2 separate regions of the Homo sapiens genome follow, and region 2 is linked to region 1. Evidence: promoter capture Hi-C in human tissues and cell types (Jung and others, 2019). All regions are on one chromosome and are shown on one strand. The core of a region is centred on a gene start or on the middle of the fragment in contact, and the rest is flanking DNA. Distances in the headings are between cores, read along the strand shown.

Region 1 (5,572 bases), core at 552-3,051:
AGATTCCTCTCATTGGTCTGCAGGCTTCTTGGTGGCTGGGGCCCTAGGACAGTCACCCCCAGGTTAAGGAACTCACGCCATTTTTTGTCTTGCACACTCCAGCACAGGAGGGCGGCAAACCCAGCATCTGGCGGCACCCCTGCTGCTGCCCTTGCAACCTGACTTAGAAAACCACAAGCAACCCCTTCGATTACATGCTCCTGTGCTGTAGGGCTAGGCCCTGCCGGGAAAGCCCCCCGAGACAGGGTCCCTGGGGAAGGACCTTCCACCGTTACCTCAGGGGCTGAGAGGAAAACACCCTGTGAAGGGGAAATTCTTCCGGGGCAGCTTCCAGGCCTAAGCTCCACGCTCCCTGCCCAGGTCAGCTTCTCCTTTTCCCTCCCCAGCAGTGGGAGCAGTTGTCTTCTGCCCTCGGCTGGATCCAAACAAGCCAAGTGTTCTCAGTTTAGTTATAGGAAGTGGTCAGAGTCTTGCATGAGGGCAGCTGCCAGATACCTAGCTTTGAAATAATTTTTTTTGTTTTTTGGAGACAGAGTCTTGCTCTGTTGCCCAGGCTGGAGTGCAGTGGCACAATCTAGGCTCACTGCAACCTCTGCCTCCCAGGTTCAAGTGATTCTTCTACTTCAGTCTTTTGAGTAGCTGCGACTACAGGCATGCACCACTGCGCTCGGCTGATTTTTGTATTTTTAGTAGAGGCGGGGTTTCACCATGTTAGCCAGGCTGGACTCAAACTCCTGACCTCAGGCAATCTGCCCTCCTTGGCCTCCCAAAGTGCTGGGATTACAGGTGTGAGCCACCATGCCCAGCCCTGAAATAATTTTTTAACATTGCACTGTACCCACACTACCTGAGCTATAAAGCAGTGATACTTCCTGTTTGAAAATTGAGTGCTCCCTGAAGTTGCCAGGAAACTGGCAGAACAGCCCACCCTGAACCTGGGAGTGAAACTCAGGGGGTCCTGTTCCTTGGTGACTTCAGCCATAGGGTGTTTCCCCAGGGAGTGCAGGGGCTAATATCCCAGCTCCTGCCTGACTTCCTAGAGTAGGACAAATAATCTTATCCAGGAGAGAAAATCCAACTGGAGGAAATGCAGCTGACTGGAAAGGTTCTCATGGTTGTAAGGCAATGTCAAGGTCACCACCACCCAGGCCCTGCCCAACACAGAAGGCCCTAGACAATATCCCTGCTAGGGGGGCATGCAGATGCTGCAGAGTCATTCCTCTTCCTTCCTGGGGTCCACTTCACTGCTAGACAGCTGTGGTCCTTAGCATGGCCCAAGGACGGACCCTGGAGCTTCTTACCCAGATCCAGATCTTTGAGGACATCTTTCCAAGAAGAATCATCTTTCCATGTCTTCTTTTCCCTGAGGTAAAAATTCCAGCTTCCACACAAGACCCTATAATAGAGAGATGGTTTCTTTTGGGAAGAAACCTGGGGTTTTTCAGGTGAGTCTACTCTGGGGAAAGCCAGGCATTTCCCCTGCTCCTTGCTGATGGTTAAGCAAGAAGGAGGTAGCACTGGAAAAATAAAGCTAGGAGATCTCTTCAGGGGATAACTCTTCAGGTCCTTAATTAGGGAGCACAGATAAACTCCAAATTAGACCACTCCACTCTGCAAGGGCAGCATATTCCACTTGCTATCAGAAGAGCTTTGTTGCTGCAAAGGGCTTGGAGATCTCTGTTCTACAAATTGCCCATGGCCCCTGGCCCATCAGCAGGGGAAAGGAGATAGTGGAGAGACGCCCTTTTCCGGTGTCCTGGGCTCAACAGGGATAAAAGGAGGCAGCACTCTGGGTGCCCCATCAGTGTGTTCTCTACCCCTTGGAGACTGCTTTTCTCCAGCTCTGTCAACTCAACCTTTCCCACCATGAGTCGGCAACTGAACATCAAGTCCAGTGGTGACAAGGGCAACTTCAGTGTGCATTCGGCAGTGGTGCCAAGGAAGGCTGTGGGTAGCCTGGCTTCTTACTGTGCAGCTGGCAGAGGGGCTGGCGCTGGCTTTGGCAGTCGGAGCCTCTATAGCCTTGGAGGGAATCGGCGTATTTCTTTCAATGTGGCTGGTGGCGGCGTTCGGGCTGGAGGTTACGGCTTCAGGCCTGGCTCTGGGTATGGAGGGGGCCGGGCCAGTGGCTTTGCTGGCAGTATGTTTGGCAGTGTGGCCCTGGGGCCTGCATGTTTGTCTGTGTGCCCACCTGGGGGCATCCACCAGGTCACTGTCAACAAGAGCCTCTTGGCCCCCCTCAACGTGGAGCTGGACCCTGAGATCCAGAAGGTGCGCGCCCAGGAGCGGGAACAGATCAAGGTGCTGAACGACAAGTTCGCCTCCTTCATTGACAAGGTGGGTCTCATAGGAGGAGGATGAGGCCGCACCCTGAGGCCTGAGCAGTTTTCCTGCTGCCTGGGAATGGACTGCACACTGTGGCTGGAAAGGTGCAGCTGGGCCTCAGGAAGGGCTTCCTCACCATTAGGGAAGGAGAGTAGGTCTGTGAGCCACGGAGGACAAAGGAATACATGAATATATCGGCTTCTTTGGCGATTTTGCAGGGAAGGATGGGAAGCTGGGTAAAGAGCAGCCCTTCCTTGACAAAAAAGTGATGAGTTTCTTGAGGACAGCTGGATCTTCCAAGAACATGAAAGGCTAATAGAATCCAGCAGTGTTCAGAGGGAAGGGCTCATGGTACAGGAAGAGACACTTAGTTGAGACATAAGGAAGGACATCTCCTGGGACCAGGGCCGAGCAATAGAAGAAAGCTGTGGAAACTCCTTGAGTGAGTTCTCAGTGATGCCTTGTCCAGAAGGCTAGGAAATGAGCACTTGTAAAGGATCTAGTTTGTGTGGAATGGCAAGGGTGGAGAGTCAAGACATGAGCAAAAATGACTACAACAATCTATGGCAAACCTGGGGAGTCAATGGTGTGTGTCCAGGGGGCATGACTGCACCCATTGTGGTTCCAGGTGTCTGTTGATTTGGGTTCCAGGTACGCTTCCTAGAGCAGCAGAACCAGGTTCTAGAAACCAAGTGGGAGCTGCTGCAGCAGCTGGACCTGAACAACTGCAAGAAGAACCTGGAGCCCATCCTTGAGGGCTACATCAGCAACCTGCGGAAGCAGCTGGAGACACTGTCTGGGGACAGGGTGAGGCTGGACTCGGAGCTGAGAAGCATGAGGGATCTGGTGGAGGACTATAAGAAGAGGTGAGCAGGCTCCACCCGAGGGTCACAGACCATGTTTCCCGTGCCTCTGGGCTCACCTGATCTCTGTGCCATTATTTTTTAGGAGATGGGGGAGTATGCACCAGGGTCAGGAGCTCACATCCCTTTCTCTGGCTAGGGGGAAGGGCCTATCCTCTTTGATGATAACTTCCTGCCTAGTTGATAGGAAGCGGTTCCTGTGCTCCTTGACCCACTGAAATGTTCAGTTGCTGGTGTCGGGAGCCCAATAGGCACCTGGGTGTTTTCCTAACATGCAAAAACTAGGAGACAAGTGAAGCAACTCAGGGATATCTTACTCCTGTCACTAGCCTCTTACTGCTCACCCCAGAGACCCTGCAGGGACCCTGTATCCCAAACATTTGCCTGGCCAGCAGGAAGAGAAAGTTCCTTGGCTAAGGGGGCTAAGGCCATCTACTCTCCCTGCTGGCAGATATGAAGTGGAGATTAACCGGCGCACGACAGCAGAGAATGAGTTTGTGGTGCTTAAGAAGGTAAGAGAGGGAGGAGCCTCCTTATTAGGGTCTCTCGCACCCCCATCTTAACAACTCTGCTCAGGACTTCAGCCCAGGAGGCTGGGGAGGGGGCTGGTGCCTGGTGAGGGGGCTGGTGCCTGGTGAGGGTGGAGTCATAGTCCTGGCCTCCAGTGAGTTGGAGAGGAAAGACACACACTCAGGAAATGGACAGAGACAGACAGAATTCTGGTCTGGGAACTGTGAAACTCGGGTCCAGCTCAACCTTGCTGTGTGACCTGAGGAAACCTACTACCTCTCTGGGCTTTGTTTTCTCCAGGCATAACAGAGCTGCCCCATCCTCCTTTCCCTATTCCCAAAGCTTCAGGCAGCCTGAGAAGAAATTGATATTGAGTGAGCTTTCCTTTGTGGGTAGAAAATAGAAAATCAGGTGGCTTTGAGGCAGGAGTTGGGCAGGGCAGCTGTGGGATGAGGGTTGCATCCCCCAATGACTCTGGGGCCTCTTGGCAGGATGCAGATGCAGCCTACGCAGTCAAGGTGGAGCTTCAGGCCAAAGTGGACTCACTGGACAAAGAAATCAAGTTCCTCAAGTGTCTGTATGATGCAGTAAGGACACTCCTGTCCCCCCACCCTCACCCTGCCTCCTTCCCGACTCTTCCAGGGAGATACCAAAAGGAGAGATTTAGGATCAACAAAATGAAAGATGTTTTGGTAGAAAGGTACAAAACCCTGCACCAGGAGACCATGGAAGTGCAGGATGCTGGTCCTTGGAGGCCATACATACAGGAGGAAATTGATCTTGATACAATAGTGGACTTGCCCACGGGCAGGAAAAGATAACCCAGTGAGGTCTTACAAAGCACAGAGCCTTGGATTCTGTGAAATTGTGGAAAATGCATTATTCACCCGTCTGCATGTGCCAGCGGGCATCTGCCATATGCAGGGGTTCCTGCTGCTGTTAGCTGCTCTCCCTCAGCTCTGCAGACACATCCCAGAGGGCACTTCTTCCCCCTACTTTGTCCCCGTGGATCCTAGCAGCCTATTGGGCCAGGGACCATGGGCCCAGAAGACTGATGGGGCAGAAGAGGGAAGCCAGGGGGTTGCTGAATCTGTCTTCCTCTCTCAATGCAGGAGATCGCTCAGATCCAGACTCACGCCAGTGAGACCTCTGTCATCCTGTCCATGGACAACAACCGGGACCTGGACCTTGACAGCATCATCGCTGAGGTCCGCATGCATTATGAGGAGATCGCCCTGAAGAGCAAGGCCGAGGCCGAGGCCCTGTACCAGACCAAGGTGGTCACCGAATGGGTCTCCTCCCACAGCAGCCCTTCGCTTCCTGGGAGGGGTCACCTGCACAGTGAATGTGAGGAATACTTTTGTGGGCATGCTGAATGAAAGAAAGGTTCCAACCAAGGCTTCAAGGAAAAAAGGAATTCTTAGCAGAGCTTGTTATCAAAGATAAATCATGAAACTGGTATGGATTGAATATATGCAACAGAGAGGATCCCTCACTTCTTTCCTCCATCCACGAACTGCCTGTTCCTCTCTGTTGCAGGTGAAAGAAGTGAGGTGGTAAAACAAACACACTTATAGGAATGGGGGCATGTTGCCACAGGGCAGAGGGAGAATCACAGACTTGCGGGAGTGTAGCCATGGGTGAATTTGGTGGGGGGCGAGTGAGAGAAGGAGAAGCCTGTAGCTCTTTCCTGATCCCCACGGGAAGACTTTCAAAAGGAAATGGAAGGCGAGGAGTGCTCTGAGTAATGGAACTATGCTTTGGGTAAACTGAGTAATGGAACTATGTTTGGGGCTGTCAGGGAGAAAACCCCTTACCTGGGCCCCCAGGACCCTGTCCCAGCACTCCTCTTCAGTTCCGTTAAATCCCACCGA
Region 2 (6,383 bases), core at 2,977-5,476, 37 kb after region 1:
TCAGCATGAGCTGATGGCCTATCTCTCCTCCCCATGGGGCTTTGACTCCAGGCTTTCCCTGCGGACACTGACAGGAGCCGGTCCTCAGGACACCCAACTGGAGGGTGCCTGCAGCAGTCCAAGCCAGATACAGCAGCCCAGAGAGGGAACCACCAGGGGCTGCTGGGGGTCAAGCCGGCTGTAGACATGGAGGTTGGCACCCTCAGGACACCTCTGGGGCTGAGGAGAGCAGCAGGTTCCCATGGCACCTGGGCGTCTTGCCTAGGTGGCGGAGGCCTCCCAGCCTTGGCCACTGCTCAGCTCCTTCTCTCCATCTGCAGAGCCTCGCCCCCATGGCTTGTCCTGCACTTCAAACCCAGAGTACTGGGCAGGGGAAACGGAAGCTGATGTTTGTGGAGCACCTTCCATGGGCCAGGCTCTGGAGGCTGGGCACAGCTCCTTCATCATCCCTCTGAGGTGGGTGTTATTATTCCCAAGGCAGAGACATACCAATCCCAGGGCTGCAGAGCCAGAATCCGGTGAGGTCTGTCTCTCCATAACCCACACTCTTTCCACACCACTGCCCTGCCTCCCGGGATGGGAACTCTGTGCCCCTGCGGCTGCACCTTTCCACCCTCCCCTGATGTCCTGCAGGCTCCCTGCCCATTTTCTGTTGGCACTTCTATCATATTCCATCAGCCAAAGCCTGATGTCTCTGGGTCCCAGGCACTGGCTGGGTCCCTTTTCCCTGGGCTTTCCTACTGCATGCTGCCCGCAGAGGCTGTGGCCTGTTGTCACTTCCAGGCCGTGGAGGTGGATCCTCTCAGTGTTGGGGGTGTCTGGACAGTGCCTAGGACTCAGCTCCACTTTTGCCTTCCTTGAAGCCCTGGTCCAGAGGTGGCTAGAGCAATGCAGGAGGTGTGGGACCCACAGGAAGCAATGGGGACAGGGAGGAGTTGGGAGAGGGAGGAGGTGGTGGACTGAGGTGGAACTGGGGTGTGGAGGGTGGGCGTGACTTTGGAGGGAGAGAGGTTGGAGCAGACTGGGGTGGACAGCTTATCCTGAGCTGAGTTAACTGGGAGCAGAACCATCAGAATGAAACCTGAGACCAGCAAGAAGGCTCTGGAGAGGGAGAGAGGAGATGGGGCTGGCCGTGCAAGTGGCCTCTTCCGGGCACGGGCCTTTCTTCAGACATTGGTGTGGTGGTCCAGCAGGCTGGAGATGGCCATCTTGTCTCCCATCCTGGCTTTAGAAAAGTTCTACCTTACATCTGACCTTCACCCTCCAGCCACACGGGCCCTTGCTCCCAACAGCTCACTCCCTCCATGGCCAGCAATGAGGACTGTCTCTTCCCAGCTGGCTCTACCCTTGGCCTTCCCAGGCCTGCAGCCTGACCTGAGGCTCACTCTCTAATGTCCCTTCATTCAGTTGTGGCCTTCTCAAAGTGCCAGCTCAAGGAGAGATGCATTTTCAAGCCCAGGTTTCTGCCATAACTATTTCTTATTCCCTCCATACTTGACTAGAGTACAATTGCAGTCCACAGCTGGTGCTAGTGAAAGCGGTAGAGAAATCCACTGATGATCCAGAAATGAAGGCTACACCATAACACAGAAACTTCAGGATCACAGCTGAGCCAAATGGGAACCAGCTGCCCTCACTCGATCCAGATTTTTTTGTTTGTTTGTTTGAATAGATCTTTAATGGTCTTGGAATCCAGCCAAATGGGAAGAGAGGGGCCTCTGAGATGCCATGGAAAATCCTTGAAGCAAATAAAAGGTGGATGAATCATAACACTGGACTGCTTTAGGGATGGCTGGGACAAGGGAGGGTAGAGGGAAGATTCTTTCTCGATTTTCTCCCCAAAGCAAACAAAGTGAGTACCAGGGAAAGGGGCCCCATGCAGGCTGAGGCAGGTTTGGAAAGAGAGTTGGTGGGGACACTGCACCCTCTGAAGCCAGAAAGGCTGGGGCATTCCCTCTGCACATCCTCCCAGGCAAGTCCAGCTCAGCCTCAGGGCTCTCTGGATCTGAGACCCCTTAATCCATGGTCAGGGGTAATGGAAGGCATTTTCCCAACTCAGATGGAGGTGGCAGGGCCACACCTTTGAGCATCCTTCATGTTTGTGAGCAGCGTAGGTGTCCCTGGGTAAATGCTTTGGCTGGAAGAGATGTGCAGTGAGGGAGCCCTGAGCCAGGCCCAGAGCCTCCAGACCACTACAGTCAGACGTTAGGAGTCAACCATCATCAAACAGCATTTCACATCAGCTGCTGGGGCTGATTTGGAGCTCCAGAGAGCCAGCCTTTTATTTTGCCAAAATTGGACATTAAGAGTGCAACAATCACCACCCACTACCGTCATCATTTCATAAAAGAAAAGGACAATTTAACAGTAGGAAGGACATTCTCTCAGACTAAGCTCAGCCCTTTAGATAAAGTCAAGCTAGCCCCATGAAAGATTTACTGCATTGCACTTACTTTTCTCAATTGCTTCAGACTACTGAGAAACACATCAAACCTGCGCCCTGTCTCAGCATTTCCCATGTCACCTCTTTGTACCTCAGGGTCCTCATCTACACGATGGGAATATGACCACACTGTCAACTGCACAATGTTCAGAAAATCACCAAAAGGGATGGAGAAGGGGAAGCACACAGAAAAATACCAGGATCTCCTGCCTGTCAGGAACAAGGATGGCGATGATGAGGGTGACGACGATCCTGCAGGAGCGATGCCTTGCAGGGGTGAGGGGCCTGGCTCTGGGCCCAGCCTCCAGCAGGGCTGCCACACTTAGCAAGTTCTTTAATCTTCTTGAGTCTCTTTTCGCTTCTGTAGAAGTGAGGATAATAATAACAATAACAGTAATAATAATAATAATAACTACTTCTTTGCATCTTTTTGTTTGAGACATAAAATCCCAGGCCCATAGTAAGAGCTCAATAAATGTTAGCTATAGCAATAAATGATTACTATTATTAGATACAATAATACCTACCCTAGAAACTGTGGGTAATTTTTAGGGGTTCACTGGGGACTCTAGTCCTAAATCGATTTCCCAGCAGCGGGAGTACTTGTCTCCTCCTCCTTCTTCTTGTGCCCTAGACCAGTGTATTTTAGACCACGTTTCTGAAATGTTGCCTCCTCCAGGGGACTAATCAGAGCTTCAGTCTCTAACTTCCTTCTCCATCTCACCCCACTGCAGTGGAACTTTCCCCTGTACTTCTCCCTGAACCGAACTCTTGGAGTCTCCTTCTAAGGCCATGCCTTGCTCCAAAGTTCATGATTTACTTTAAACAGGATTGCTACTTCTACCCCCAAGTACCCCCTCCTCGACCTTTGGAAGTCTTGATCAATGTGTCCCCTGCATCCTGGAGGTTCCTGGTGGGCACAGCTTGGGTGGTGTAGTGTTTTTTGTGTGTGGTGTTCATGGCAGAATTGCTGCAGGCTGCACAAGGTGTTTGCGATGATGGCGATTACAAGAAACCTGCAGAGCCGCAGAGCTGTGTCCCCAGTGCTCTGGACACCATTCACTGGCACAGACTCCCCTCTCTGTGATGTAGGCACCCCTTGGTCTTGCTTCAGAGCTATCTTTGATGGGGTTAGAAAAGACTAGCAGACAGGTGGGAGACCTAGTCACCACCTGACATCCTGAGTGCCAGGCCTGTCAGCAGCCAGTACCGAAGGGCAAGAGCAGGCAGGCAGGGCTGGGGCTGAGTGCCAACCTGGGGAATGACATCTCTGTGGCACTGTGGTTGACTATCCAGGGCACGTGTCTACAAACTGGGATGGGAGGCAGGACAGTGGAGTGGAGAATAGACTGAAAAAGATGTCCAAAGTGGAAAAAAGGGAGGAGGGGAAGAGGAGGCGCAGGGACCTCTAGTCCACACCTCTGAGACTCTGCGGATTTGGAAAATGAAGGAAGGGAAGGGACAGGCTGTCAGTGCCACAAAGGACAGGGCCTGGGCAATGGGCTCACAGGGTAGCGAGAGGGGTGGAGACAGTGGTGTGCTGGTAACTAAAGTGTGCTGCTGAGCCTAACAACCAGCTCTCTGAAAAAATGCATAGATGTGTATATATACAAATATATATACATGTAAATGTGTATTTATGTTTATGTTATAAGTTTACTAGAAGTTTTACTGCTATATTAGATATGTAGCATACAGTTTACAAATAATAATAAAATCTACAAGTCTTTTTTTTTTTTTTTTTTTGAGACGGAGGCTCGCTCTGTTGCCCAGGATGGAGTGCAGTGGCACCATCTCGGCTCACTGCAAGCTCCGCCTCCCAGGTTCAAGCCATTCTCCTGCCTCAGCCTCCCAAGTAGCTGGGACTATAGGCGCCCGCCACCACGCCCGGCTAATTTTTTGTATTTTTATTAGAGATGGGGTTTCACCATGTTAGCCAGGATGGTCTCGATCTCCTGACCTCATGATCCACCCACCTCGGCCTCCCAAAGTGCTGGGATTACAGGCGTGAGCCACCGTGCCCAGCCCTACAATACTCTTTATTATAAACTTGATACAGCCAAGTGACCCTCATGGAATGCTTTCAGTTGGCTTTTGACAAACTCTTATGCCCATGGCTGGCCAGTGGCTGCAACCAACAAACCAGCATAGCCCCCACATGAATGTTAGCTCCCATGTTCATCTTCACAGTTAAGATGAACGTGAAATGATGAAGATGAATGTTGGAACTTACTTGCTCCTCAATGATGTGAGTGACTTTTTGGCTGAATCAGATAATGGGTTTTAAATACCGGGATATTATTTTGTATTTTTTGGCTATTCATAATGTTATTATCAATGGGCACAACATACTTTTAATTTTAATCTACGTTATAAACATTTTCCCCATCACTTTATTAAATTTAGACCAGAGCTGTCCAGTAGAAATGCAATGAAAGCCACAGATATTATTTAAAATCTGCTAGTAGCCACATTTAAGGAATAGACTAAATTAATTCTAATATATTTGACATAATATATAGAAAACACTATTCTTTCAATAGATAATCAATATAAACATTTTTGATGATATATTTTACATTCTTTTCTTCCATTCTGAATCTTCAATATCCAGTACATATGACATATCTAAGCTTGGACTAGCCACATTTCAAGTGCTCAGTTAGCCACATGGAACTAGTGGCAGCTGTGTGAGGCTGTGCAGCTCCAGACAATCAACCAAACAATAAACCAAGCTCTGATTTGTAGTGCTTGCCAGTTCGCTTGGGGTAAATTCTCCCACAAAGGTGATTTCAAGCTACCAACATGATGTCACTGATTACAGGCTGGAAAGAGATGTGAACACCATGGTAGGGGATTTCTGCATGTAGATTCAATAAATGTCAACAACCACAAGAACTTTGATAATATATCAAAGTAAAGTATAATAAAATTAGAAAATGATGAGTTTTAAACATTTCTTCCCTTTGTTTTTAATGCAATGTATTTAACTATAATTTTACATAATTTAATTTGAATTATGGCTATGTTTAATAACAGCTCACAACGTTCTTCAAAATTTAACAATCGGCTTTTGCAAACCCTTTCAGTTTGCTCTACCACAACAGTAGTCAGATATAAGAACACAGGGAGGTCTTCAAATGAGACGTGGTTTTTTTGCAACGATCAAAATGGGATTTATGTTTAGTGAAACTTAACAGACACTTATTGAGGTACCATCTGGTACAGGGATGATGCTGGAGGGTTGGCGCAGGACAGGGTGGCTACAGAATGAACACAATGTGATTCTGGCCCTCAGAGGTATTAAGGTTCTAAGGAAGCACAGATGATCACAGTAATAATAATATGTGCAAGTTAAAATGGTGGCCCTGAGGGTTGTGGATCCCAGAGGTGGCAAGGTTAAAGGGCATTTGGGTTCCAGACCTGGCTCTGTCTCTAAGTCACTGCCTCATTTTGCCCTCAGTTTCCCTTCCTGTTAAATGAGGGGGTTGAGCTGGGTGAACCCCCAGGTTTCCGTCCAGCCTCCAAGGTGGGTCTTCCAATGTAGCGACTGAAGAGTGTGGCTTTCTGGATTAAAGGGCATTGGAGCTGGGCTTTAAAACACTGCCTTCTCCAATGTCAGGAACTGTGAAGGTAAAAGGGGCAGGAACATGAAAGAAGCTTTGGGAAGATGAGATCCCTGGGCTGAATGCAAAATAAAGAAGGAAGAGTAAAGGGGGTAAGTACCAGAGTTTTAGGGGTAGGAGTGATGTTAGAGTTTATCTAGAGATCTACTAGGCCAGGGCTTCAGATTACAGATGGGGAACCTGAGGCTTAGAGGCGTTAAATAACTTGCCCCAGGTGACGCAGCCAGAAGGTGGCAGAATCAGGTCCACGTGACTCTATACAGATAAGGATATATGCAATGTGTGCTTTTTATGCCCAAACTCACACCTTCGGG

The links. Contacts are between HindIII fragments. The study calls those that stand out against the background at their distance.
Region 2: a contact is called between a fragment that was not itself captured here and the fragment with the promoter of KRT74 in region 1, in 2 of the 25 tissues and cell types used here (adrenal gland and bladder).

The regions. Positions count from the first base shown.
Region 1 is chr12:52,570,072-52,575,643 of GRCh38, reverse strand. KRT74 (keratin 74) reads left to right here and starts at 1,801. Exons shown (of 9, transcript NM_175053.4): 1 at 1,801-2,337; 2 at 2,977-3,191; 3 at 3,640-3,700; 4 at 4,190-4,285; 5 at 4,811-4,975. The coding sequence starts at 1,867. RefSeq lists an enhancer at 3,207-3,376. The HindIII fragment of the contact is 9,071 bases long and covers 1-5,572 here.
Region 2 is chr12:52,534,589-52,540,971 of GRCh38, reverse strand. No RefSeq gene overlaps it. Among named protein-coding and RNA genes, the nearest start is that of KRT71, 15 kb to the left of the region's middle. The HindIII fragment of the contact is 6,747 bases long and covers 853-6,383 here.